Linked DNA regions of Homo sapiens: all the other regions are linked to region 1. Evidence: promoter capture Hi-C in 16 types of primary human blood cells and fetal thymus (Javierre and others, 2016). All regions are on one chromosome and are shown on one strand. The core of a region is centred on a gene start or on the middle of the fragment in contact, and the rest is flanking DNA. Distances in the headings are between cores, read along the strand shown. Region 1 holds the start of PITPNM2 (phosphatidylinositol transfer protein membrane associated 2). Region 2 overlaps VPS37B (VPS37B subunit of ESCRT-I). Region 3 has its middle 3.9 kb from the start of HIP1R.

Region 1 (3,735 bases), core at 827-3,326:
CCCCTTCAAATGTTTCATCTAAAGGTGACAGCTTGTGGGCAGAACCATGCACAGGAAGTGCCTGCCAGTGGGTGTTAGGAGATGTAGGTGGAGTCTGTGATAGCCAACCAAAAGCTATCCCCTTCTCGCCCAGAAAAGCCACGTGCTTTGCTGGACGCTACTTGAAATCTGAACTCTGCACCTACATATGTAGTAAAATTAGACACTTTTGTCACTTTAATTTTTAGATTATCTCAAGTTTTCACTAGATTTCAATGTGCCACTTGTGCTATGAGTCTTTAAGAAGCTTTAAAAAATAAATGCACACCTGTAGCCTTTTACCATTCAGACAGGTAGATTATATTTACCTGTCATGAGGGACCATGTATGGTTGACAGTTGCAGGTTTGATTAAATCCACTATATTGCACAAATTTTGCTGGAAATAATTTCCTGCCCTGCCAAGAGCTCTATGGTAGTTTGATAATAAACTACTACCCCAGTATTCTTAGGAACTGTGTTACTAAGTCTTTTCTGCCTGATTTGTACTTTATTTCCATAGACCCCTCAGATATGTGAGGAATCAAGCCATAAATGTGCATTTGCTGGACATTATGTACCATGTCATCTCTATGACTACAGATTTCAAGGATAATTTTTACATCTAACAATTTCACTGTAACAGTGACCGATAATGTGAGAAATGTGCTTTTTACAGTGCTGCTGGTGGGTAGACAAGTGCTTGCTGCAGTTGTTTCTGAATCTAGCCAGATGCTGGAGTCGTGAAGCTGTAAGCTCCGCGGGAGCAGGGACCATCTCTCTTTCTTGCACTACAGGCACTCAATAAATACTTGTGGCTGTGAACTGGCGTGTGGCCTTTGTGTGTTTATTTCTGCTAGCTGGCTGCAGGAGCGGGTTGTTGGTGATTTTAAGTCCCAGGCATAGAGAAGTCCTTGAGTTATGGGTTAAGGGGCGTCCATCCAGGAGCACAGTTCCCGTTGGGACTCTGTGGGCTCCGCAGATCTTTCTGGATGGATCCTAGGGCACCTCTTGGTGGAGGGAAGGAGCTGAAGCGTTCTAGGTGATGGTGGTACGCCTTGGTCCTCCTCTGCGTGGTCATGGTCAGGGGCACCTGGAGGCGAGTCGGGAACGATGGCCTTCCTGGCCCGTTCAGTTGGGTTCTGCCGTGACCCCAGGAGGTGAGCAGCTGTCAGGGGCTCGGCCTCCCCGGCTTCATCTGGAGTCATCTAGGCCGCCTTAATTTTAGCTTGTCCTCTCTCCTCCAGGGGAGCACCGCCGTCTCCTCAGCCTTATAAGGTGACAAGTAGGGATGGGTCACACATCACTAAGTTTTAGGTGTGCTCTCTTTAGTTCCATGACTTCAGATTTTGCCAAACAAGTCCACCCTGGCTCAACCTAACAAACACCTCATGTTTTTAAGGAATGTCACCAGGCGCTCCCCCACCGGGGGCTCTTCCCATTGGAGAGCCCTGTCGTGCCAGATCATCCGGATTAAACTGTTCGTGATCCTCTTCCAGCTACTCCCTGAGGTGGGGACCGGGACGGCTGCGCTCCCGGCTCTGCCGTTCCCTGGGCCGCGGCCCGGGCGTCCTGAGGGGAGAGCGCGGACCCACCGTGTGGCGAGCACCGCGCCCGGGGCTGGGCTTCGGTGAGCTGCCCGCTGCGCTCTGCCCTCCCTGGTTTACCATTTCGCTCCTAAGAAACTTCATTTTTTAAAATGAGGCTGTTTTAAGAGTCACAGTGGCCGCAAGTCGGCCGGTTCCCGCCCCCGAGTGCGCTCGGCTGCTGCGGACGGTGGGCGAGGAGCCCGGGGCGGGGATCCGCGCCGCCGCCCCCGAGTCCAGTCCCGGGCCCTGAGGACACGGGCGAGCCGGGGAGGAGCGGGGTCGCCGCGGCAGGTCTGAGGAACCAGGCGGGCTGCCCGAGTCGGAGAGGTTTCTTCCGGCGGAGGCGGCGGGGCCGGGCCGAGACTCCGCAGGGACGCGCCCCCGCCGCCGCCGCCGCCGCTCCCCCGCGCGGCCTGAGGAGGCGCCGCCGCCACTGAGGGAATGCGAGCCCGGCCCGGCGCGCGCGGGCAGCAGCGGCCGCTGGGGTGCGCGGGGCACCGCGGCGCCGCGGCGTAGAGCTGTCCAGCCGGCCCCGGCCGCCCGCCCGGCGCTTCCTTCTCAGCTCGCGGCCGCCTCAGCGAGAGCCGCCCGCCAGCACGTGCGCCGCCGCCGCCCGCCTGCGACGCTCGGGAGCAATGCCCGCCGGGGCTCTGCCGCTCGCCCGGGGCCAGCAGGCGGCGGGGGCGCGCGGGGCGCAGCCGGCCGGGCCGGGGCCGCGGGGCGGGCGCTCCCCGTGAGGCGGCGTGAGGTGGCGGCGGCCCAGCCGGGGCCCCGAAGAGGACAGAGCCCGCGGCCGCGCCGAGCGGGGTGAGTGCGTCCGGGCGGCCGCTCCGCAGGCCCGCGGTGAGTCCCGCAGTGCCGGGCGCTGGCCGGGGACCTGGGGATCTGGGCGGCGGCTCCCAGAGAGGCCCCGGCCCGCCCGCCCGCCGAGCCTCCAGCCCGCCGGGGGCTGGAGGAGGGAGCGGAGACCCGGGCAGGGAGGAGGGTGTGGCGTACGGGAGCCCCGCTCGGGAGACCGCCCGAGCCTGGCCTCAGTGAGTCGCCGGCCCTGGATCCGTGCCCGAAACGCTGATTTCCGAATTTCCGTCGGTCGCGACCGCGTGGGGGACCCCCGCCAGGGACAAGTGTCATAGCGGTCGGGGGGCAGGCGTGGGCAGTGCCGGTGCCAGGGCGAGGAAGGGGCTATCGGGAGGAAGCGGAGGTGAGCCCCCGGCCCGCCTTCTCTGCTTCCCGCCTCCAGCTGAACGTCCCCAGGCCCGGGCCGTGGCCTCTGCTTGTCGGGGGCCCAGGGTTGGGGTGTGGCCCGTCTCCATCCTCAGTGCCCCCTTCGTGTGGTAATGGGGTGCCGGCTCTGTCTTCTTCCCACCCCGAATCCTTTCTTATCCGTGGCAGGGCTGATCGGGGGGCCTTGGGGAGAGGGAAAGTTCAGTGTCCCCCGCCCCAGTGTGCACTGCCTCCCCGCAAGAAATCCCAAACGGCCACTCCAGGTGAACATAGTGCGCGCGGTGCAAATGTCATTTCAAGGCAAGTCCTCCAGGCTTGTCCCCTTTCCACCGACTTGCTCCTGCAGAGACATCCTGCACTCCTCTCCCTCCCACTGAAGTGTGGGCTGGGTGCCTCTCCAAACACCCCGGCCTACCTGCCTCCCCCACCCAGAGTCGGGATTCTTCAAAGGAGACCTCACTGGAACATCTGTCTTTGTCCACAACCAGCTCTCTCCCCGGCCTCCACCTGGGAGTGACCAGAGCTGCTAGGATAGACCCCCCACTTCTGGAGGGAAGGCAGTAAGTGCTCCCCTTCATCTGAATCTCCCCTAACATCCATCCCCCAGACTCCTCTCTGCTCTGAACTCCCACTGCCTGCTATCTGTATCTCCTGTGTAACTCTTATCACCGTCTGCCTTATTTTATAGTTACTTTTCCATCTGCCTTATCTCCCCTGCTGGACGGTGAGCTCCCGGGCTGGAGTTGATTCATCTCTGGTCTCCTGCCCTGGTCAGTACCCTGCGTGGAGTCAGTGTCTCCGTGGAGCAGAAGGCCCCTCCAACGCTTGCCTCTGGGACCATAGCTTGTCTGATTCCTGGACTGTTGCTGTTAAATTACTTTCCTTCCATGAAGGGACTGTATTCT
Region 2 (3,846 bases), core at 634-3,133, 280 kb after region 1:
ACACTACACAGCATTGGAAAGAAACGAACTGATTCACAGACCTGAGCAGGGTCTCAGAGACGCGGTGCTGAGTGCAAGAAGCCAGGAGAGTATGACCTGTACTCTCTGATTCCAGGATGTGGAGTCAAGACCAGGCGGACCTCCTCTGTGGTGGTGGAGGCCAGCGTAGGGGTTATCTGGCGGGTGCAGTGGGCGTGAGGGCGCCCGGTGGAAAGGTTCTGTGTCTGGATCTGGGGGGTGGTGGTTGGCGGTTAAACACGTGGAAATTTGACTTACACACTTGAGATGTGTATACTCGATGTAAGTTACCACTCAAAACATAAAGGAAATACAAAGTGGCATGATGAGAATGTCACTGCCCCATATTTGAAAACAGCTGGTTCTAGAAGCAGCTGGTGACACAGGTTGCTCTGACATGGGATGTTGGCCCCTGGGCACTGGCTTGGTGCACTTGTTCCCCTGTAGGTTTTCAAGCCTTTCACATTCAGCTTCCTGGAAAGGAAGGTGCAATCCTGCCGTGGTTGGCATCATGAAGGGCTTTACCTGGACACCTCTCACTTTTGTCATACCTCTTGCTTTTTTTCCAGACAGACAGTCTAGCAGTGCTTCCTTGGAGACCCTGTTAGCACTTCTTCAGGCAGAAGGGGCCAAGATTGAGGAAGACACTGAGGTAAAGCCCACCAGCCTTGGTGGAATCCTTGGGGCGCTTTGGGCAGTCCGTGGGCCCGCTGCCTCCAGGGACCGTGAGTGCCACACCGCCACGGCCAGGAGTGGTGCCTCCCAGGTGTACGGGCTGTATACCAGCAGGCAGCCTGGCCTGTGTGCTGGGGAAAGTGCCAGGCAGGGGTCCAGGGAGCAGCGGGGTGAGTGAGGGCAGGTCCGAGCGAGGGCCAAGAGAGGGCATGCGTGCCACCCTGTGAACGCCGGCCCCTGGGGCCAGTGGCGGATTACCACGTGCCGTCGTTCAAGGGCCAGCTGGGAGGAGGCTACAGAGCTTCTGGGACACGTCCAGCTGCGCATTAGAGCCTTGAGCCTCGCCAGGCGATAAGGAAATGAGTCAAGGTCGAATGTTGTGCAGTTGTTGCAGGCTGGGGCCGGCAGGGTCTTGCCAAGATAGGGCTGGGCTCGATGAACTCTGAAGCCCTGGGGGCACAGGTGTTTCTGTCTTGCTTACCCACCCAGGGCGAGTCTGTCAGTCAGGGTGCAGCCGGGTGGAAGCAAGGAGGTGTTGGACTCCAGCGGGCTCGAGAGAGGCCTGGGACCCAGGAGTCGGAGCCCTCACCCAAAGGCCAGCTCCTCTGCCTGTCACGCTGGTGGTGGGGTGCGCAGCAGGGCTGTCGTCCTCTCCACCTAGTGGCAGCTCATGCTGAAGCCTGAGCCCATGACCTCTGGGATCTGGAGCAGGAGCGAGGCCCTCTGGGTGGTTACAGGGAGGGGGCAGTGTTGGAAGCAGCTGGGCGTTGCCTCTCCTTGTGCCTAGACCACGAAGGGAGCATCCTCCCCATCTGGCTGTCCCTGTAACCAGGTTTCTGCCTCTTTCAGAACATGGCAGAGAAGTTTCTGGATGGAGAACTTCCTCTGGATTCCTTCATTGATGTCTATCAGAGCAAACGGAAACTGGCCCACATGCGACGGGTGAAAATCGAGAAGCTCCAGGAGATGGTCCTAAAGGGGCAGAGACTCCCACAGGCCCTGGCCCCGCTGCCCCCCAGGCTGCCCGAACTGGCACCTACCGCCCCCCTTCCCTACCCTGCCCCAGAGGCCAGTGGGCCTCCTGCCGTTGCACCTCGGCGCATCCCCCCCCCACCACCCCCGGTGCCTGCGGGACGCTTAGCCACCCCGTTTACTGCGGCCATGAGTTCGGGACAGGCCGTGCCGTACCCAGGATTACAGTGCCCGCCCCTGCCCCCCCGCGTGGGCCTCCCCACTCAGCAAGGATTCTCTTCGCAGTTCGTGTCCCCATATCCGCCACCTCTCCCTCAGAGACCCCCGCCCCGGCTCCCTCCACACCAGCCGGGTTTCATCCTCCAGTGAGCGCCGGCGCGGTCCTTCCCGGGAGACTTCTTCCACCTGGCGTGTTGTGCTCTGCTCACGGGAAGGAGGCTGGAGGTCCGCTCTGTGCCAAGGGCTCTGGGGCCCTGGGCCAGCGTGTCTGTCTGATTTTAGAACTGTAGGTCAGTGGTGAGTAGTAGGAGCCCAGGCTTTGGGCATCAAGGCAGTTGTGTGTGCCGGGTTACAGCCTGACACCTGTGCGTTGCATCGGTTTGCATTATCCGTGTGATTTCTAAGTATCTTAGCGTTGATGAACTCATGTTTGGGAAGAAATAGGCCTCTCCCCCAGTCCCATTTAGAATCGTGGTCCTTCTGTTGCAGCTTTATTTAATGAGCATGGTTCATGATACTTATTTTATTTTCGAAAGACAGTCCTATGTGTCTCACCCACCGGCCACTGCAGCCCTGGTGAGGGCGGGTGGGCGCCGGCCGGCCTGGAAGAGCGCCGTGGCTGGGCCACCACCTGTGGCTGCGTTGTTGCTCACTGAATCTGTTGGGGAGAGGTCACCATAGTCACCGCCTGACCTGGCTGCTGCTCTTGCTTCAGAGCCACAAGCAAAGTTTGCACTGGGCCCACTGCCGAGTCCAGAGGCCGGAGAACGGCCACTGGTGTGGGAGGGGAGCGCACGAGTGGGACTTTGCACAGCAAATTGTGTCCCCAGCTCCTCCTCTCCCGCCTGCCTGGAGCCGGCCCTGAAGGTTTCTATGAAGAAATAATCCCCCAATATTTTTACTACGTGTGTGATTTTCCTGTTTTATATTGAAAAAACTTTTTTGACACTCCCAAGACCATTCAGGGAAATTTTATAAAAAATGCAGATACTGTCTTGAGCAGATCGAAATGCCGATGAAGTGGATGCAATTTCCTTTTGTGCAAGCAGTGCACGGTGCCCCCCCCTCGGGTGTCCGTGCTGTGCCTTAGCTTCCCCAGGTGCCGGGACTCACACCTGCTAGGGGCTGGGCAAGGCCCCGGCTCTGCTTTCTCTGAAGGGCTTGTCCAAGTTCATTGCCCTGTTACAGGTGGTCAAGACGTCCGGCCGCCTTGACCCAGGCTACCCTTAGCCAATATCCTCTGCCCCTGGGTGGCTGGTGGCTGGGCCTCAGGGTGGGCAACGTTAGGGGTTTGGCGAAAGCCCGCCCCATGGGATTGAGGGACGGGGCTGCACTCCAACCGTCTGCACCTGCTCTTCCCCCACCCCTGTGGGACCTCATCTTCACGTGCCATGTGTGCTGAAGGCCCAGGGCCCAGCAGGGGGCAGTGGCACCTGTTGACGGAAAAGGCCGAGGTGCTTACCAGTGGACCTTCTGGCCCGCCCCTCCCCTGTCACTTGTCGGGCATCCAGGGCCCCGACCTGTGCCTAGCCGCCAGGGTGACAGAAGGCAGAACTGAAGCGGGGTCTGGGCCACGGGCCAGGCCACTGCCTTTTGTCCTCAGTGACCGTACATTCCTGCTCTCGGACTTGAACTCTACTGTAACTGTTTTCTTAAAGGAAATGAAGCTGTACAGGACGATTCACTGCCATGCCAGTCAGGCGGGCTTGCCATGTTCTGTGAATCTCGAGTGAGCGGTGCCACCCGCCCCCATACCTCCGCCACCGGCCGCTGTCGGGGATGCCACAGCCTGCCACGGTCGCAGCCAGACGTGAGCTTGGCATTGAAGTTGCAAAGCGGCCCCTGGCCGGGCTCGCCGTCGCTGTCCAGGGCCGTGTCCGGTGCTGTGGCTGTAAAGCTGTAGGACCCTTTTTAATAAATAGAGAATTATTAATAACAGGCCTGTCACTTATTTACTTGGGG
Region 3 (4,255 bases), core at 109-2,608, 320 kb after region 1:
GGGGCTTTTTGCGGTACTCCAGCTGTTTCTCACACTCCTTTTTCCACACGGAACAAAAGTGGTTCTCCTGTGACCCTTCACGCATATACAGCATCCCTTTTCAACCAGGCAACAGCCCCTGTAGGTCTAGCACATCTGCCACAGAGACTTCCCATTAGCAACTGGCTTTTTAAATAATCACAGAGCCTATTACTGTGCCGGGCACCAGGCTCAGCATCTGTTAAACAGTATCTCACTTATTCTTCTTTAAAGTTGTTGATGAGGCTCGGCACAGTGGCTCACGCCTGTATTCCGAGCACTTTGGGAGGCTGAGGCAGGTGGATCACTTGAGCTCAGGAGTTCGAAACCATTCTGGGCAACATGGTGAAACCCCATCTCTACCAAAAAATACGAAAAACTTAGCTGGCCGTGATGGCGTGCCTGTAGTCCCAGCTACCCAGGAGGCTGAGGTGGGAGGATCACTTAGGCCTGCAAGGCAGAGGTTGCAGTAAGCTGAGATCATGCCACTGCACTCCAGCCTAGACAACAGAGTGAAACCTTCTCTCAAAATAAATAAATAAAAAATAAAGCATCAACAACTTTATTTTTATTTATTTATTTTTTTTGAGACAGGGTCTGGCTTCGTTACCCAGGCCGGAATGCAGTGGCATAATCATAGCTCACTGCAATTTCTGCCTCCTGGGCTCAAGTGATCCTCCCACCTCAGCCTTCTAAGTAGCTGGAACTGGAGGGATGCACTATCATGCCCAGCTAATTTTTTTTTTTTTTTGAGATGGAGTCTCACTCTGCCACCAGGCTGGAGTGCAGTGGCACGATCTTGGCTCACTGCAACCTCTGCCTCCCGGGTTCAAGCAATTCTCCTGCCTCAGCCTCCCAAGTAGCTGGGACTACAGGCGCCCGCCACCACGCCCAGCTAATTTTTGTATTTTTAGTAGAGACAGAGTTTCACCATGTTGGCCAGGATGGTCTCGATCTCTTGACCTCGTGATCTACCCACCTCGGCTTCCCAAAGTCCTGGGATTACAGGCATGAGCCACTGCGCCTGGCCATGCCCAGCTAATTTTTAAAGTTTTTTTGTAGAGACAGAGTCTTGCTAAGTTGTCCAGGCTGGTCTCAAATTCCCGGGCTCAAGTGAATTCGCCCACCTTGAAAGTACTGGGATTACAGGCCGAAGCCACTGCACCTGGCCTCTTGATGGTATTTTTTACAGACCAACAAACAAGCTCAGGTTCAGAGAGTTTAGCCCAGGTTCACACAACTGGTAAACGCTGCATTCGGGATCCAGACCCAGATGTGCCTGATTTCAAGGCCAGTGCCCGCAACACCCATGCCATTTGGACTACATTTTGTGGTCTATGACTTTCAGTACTATACTACCTCAGGCTTGCTGTTTAGGACCTGAGAGCACTCTCCTAACACATCTCTAAGGGATTGTACTTTATGTGCTTGTAGGTAAGATTTTGAGCTATTAGAGGGCCACCCTGTATTACTCAGTTTTATGTACTCAGTGCCTAGCAGGGCACCTGGCACATAGCAATGTTCAATATGTATGTCAAATGAAGGGCTGAAAGAGTGAGTAAACAAATACCTCATTTGGTATACTTCAACATACAGCTGATCTCACGAAAGAGTATCACTGAGGACATAAGGATACAAACTTCCCCAATCTTTTGTTTGTTTGTTTTTGTTTTTGAGACAGGGTTGCCCTCTGTCACCCAGGCTGGAGTGCAGTGGCATGATCTCAGCTCACAGCAACCTTCGCTTCCTGGGTTCCAGCAATTCTCCTGCCTCAGCCTCCTGAGTAGCTGAGATTACAGGCGTGCGCCACCACAGCCTGGCTAATTTTTGTATTTTTTGTAGAGACAGGGTTTCACCATGTTGGTCAAGCTGGTCTTGAACTCCCAACCTCAGGTGATCCACCTGCCTCGACCTCCCAAAGTGTTGGGATTACAGGCGTGAGCCACTGTGCCTGGCCCAAACTTCCCCACTCTTAATTTTTCTGGTTCATCTCTCTAACATCTTCAGGCAGGAGGCCTGGTCTACTATTGTCCCTGTCACTGACTGGCTTTTTTTTTGGCGGGGGGGATACGGGGTCTTGCTTGCTCTGTTACCCCTGCTGGAGTGCAGTGGCTGGATTATGGCTCATTGCAGCCTCAACCTCCTGGGCTCAAATGATCCTCCCACCTCAGCCTCCAGAATAGCTGGGACCACAGGTGTGCACCACCATGCCTGGCTAATTTTTAAATTTTTTGTAGAGACGGGGGTCTCACCACGTTGCCCAGACTGGTCTTGAACTCCTGGACTCAAGCAATCCTCCCACCTTAGCCTCCCAAAGTGCTGGCATTACAGGCAGGAGCCACTGCTCCCGGCCTGAGATTCTTCATGCCATCAGAATCAGGGTTCTGTTTTGGTGTATCTCGAGGGCTGTTGAATTCCTGCTCACCCCTATTACAAAAGCAAAGCAATTGGAATACAAATAAGACCTCGTTTTAAGGAAAATCCAAGATGCACAGGAGAGTTTACATCATCTGGCCCACTAAAACATGGTATGCTACCACACCCACACTGACTCATCGACTCGTATGCATGATCTGGCCCCAGCCTCTGTCCCTGGCTTCATCTTGCACCATCCTGGCCCATCAGGTCCCAGATGCGTCATGTTCCCTCCCACCTCAGAGCCTTTGCACATGCTGTTCCTACTGCCTGGAATTCTCTTCTGCTTCCCGTTCGCCCTACTTAGCATCCACTTGTCTTTAACTCTTGGCTCAGATGTCACTTCTTTAAGGAAGCATTCTCTTAACACTCCACCCTTCACCTGAGTCCCTATTATAAGCTGTCATCATATCTCAAAGCTTTCTTTTGTAGCACTAACCAGTCTCTTGTGAACTATGTATGGGATTCTTAGATTAGTGTGTTTCTACGACTAGATTGTCTGCTTTGCTCATTGTTGTGTCTCCAGTGGCCAGCAAAGCACCTACTGTGTGCTCAAAATTCTTTGATTTTTTGTTGGGTTTCTTTTTGTTGTTGTTGTGGTTGGGTTTCTTAAGCATGCATCTGGCTGAGAACCCAGACATCATCCTTTAAAGAACTGATTCATGTACACTTTTCATTCAATCAACTTCTCTCAAAGACCATTCTGGGTGTTTTTTGTTTGTTTGTTTGTTTGTTTGAGACAGAGTCTGGCTCTGTTGCCCAGGCTGGAGGCATGGCTCAATCTCAGCACACTGCAACCTCTGCCTCCCAGGTTGAAGTGATTCTTGTGCCTCAGCCTCCTGAGTAGCTGGGATTACAGGCACCCACCACCACGCCCAGCTAATTTTTGTATTTTTAGTAGAGAGGTGTTTCGCCATGTTGGCCAGGCTGGTCTCGAACTCCTGATCTCAAATGATGTGCGAGCTTTGGCCTCTCTAAGTGCTGGGATTACACGCGTGGGCCACTGCACCTGGCCCCATTCTGGTTTTTAAACCTCCTTGTCAGCTGCAGTCTTGATGAATGTGTCTGGTTTCTTATTTTGATCCTGTTCACTCTGTTCTCTATCACACTGGAGGTTGCTAAGATTATTCTGTTGAAGGCCTAGAATAATGAACTTTCCTGCAATGTGTCCTAACAAAATCATCATCAAATGGCTCAAGAGAAACAAAAGTACAACACTGCAAACCCACCACCCCAGCTACAGGTGTCAAACCACACAAAGCCACAGGAGAAAACTCCAGGATCAGTTTGCCAGACCATAACAAGGATTCAGTCTTCAGTCTCCTTCCTGGAAGGTATGGAGCCAACCTTATCCCACACAGCCAAGAAGTTCTAGACGCATTCTCTTGGCACTTTTGGGGTAAAGCTGCTTTTAGTGTTTATGTTTTATCTTAATTCAGAACTTTTTTTCTTTGGGGGTATTTCTATTTCTGTTTTTAAATATCTGTTGGCCGGGCGCGGGGGCTCACACCTGTAACCCCAGCACTTTGGGAGGCTGAGGTGGGCGGATCACCTGAGGTCAGGAGTTCGAGACCAGCCTGGCCAACATGGTGAAACCCCGTCTCTACTAAAAATACAAAAATTAGCCTGGCATGGTGGCAGGTGCCTGTAATCCCAGCTATTCGGGAGGCAGAAGAATCTCTTGAATCTGGGAGATGGAGGTTGCAGTGAGCTGACATCGTGCCACCGCACTTCAGCCTGGGTGACAGAGTGAGACTCCATCTAAAGAAAAAAAAATTAGGCATGGTGGCACGTGCCTGGAGTCCTCGCTAATTGGGAGGCT

The links. Contacts are between HindIII fragments. The CHiCAGO score rates a contact against its expected background, and 5 or more counts as called.
Region 2: a fragment that was not itself captured here is called in contact with the fragment with the promoter of PITPNM2 in region 1 in 1 of 17 cell types (fetal thymus); the score reaches 5.3 in fetal thymus.
Region 3: a contact is called between a fragment that was not itself captured here and the fragment with the promoter of PITPNM2 in region 1, in 1 of 17 cell types (M1 macrophages). The highest score is 5.3, in M1 macrophages.

Annotation. Positions count from the first base shown.
Region 1 is chr12:123,149,431-123,153,165 of GRCh38, reverse strand. PITPNM2 (phosphatidylinositol transfer protein membrane associated 2) reads left to right here and starts at 2,076. Exons shown (of 26, transcript NM_020845.3): 1 at 2,076-2,413. It also overlaps a transcript of MPHOSPH9 not described here. RefSeq lists silencers at 1,693-1,892, 1,913-2,172, 2,193-2,332, 2,433-2,522. The HindIII fragment of the contact is 4,737 bases long and covers 289-3,735 here.
Region 2 is chr12:122,865,304-122,869,149 of GRCh38, reverse strand. It overlaps VPS37B (VPS37B subunit of ESCRT-I), which reads left to right. Exons shown (of 4, transcript NM_024667.3): 3 at 588-670; 4 at 1,543-3,820. The coding sequence ends at 2,034. It overlaps LOC124903039 (a long non-coding RNA gene), which reads right to left. Exons shown (of 2, transcript XR_007063500.1): 2 at 3,793-3,846. Among named protein-coding and RNA genes, the nearest start is that of VPS37B, 29 kb to the left of the region's middle. The HindIII fragment of the contact is 5,724 bases long and covers 1-3,846 here.
Region 3 is chr12:122,829,398-122,833,652 of GRCh38, reverse strand. No RefSeq gene overlaps it. Among named protein-coding and RNA genes, the nearest start is that of HIP1R, 3.9 kb to the left of the region's middle. RefSeq lists a silencer at 3,765-3,965. The HindIII fragment of the contact is 2,993 bases long and covers 1-2,854 here.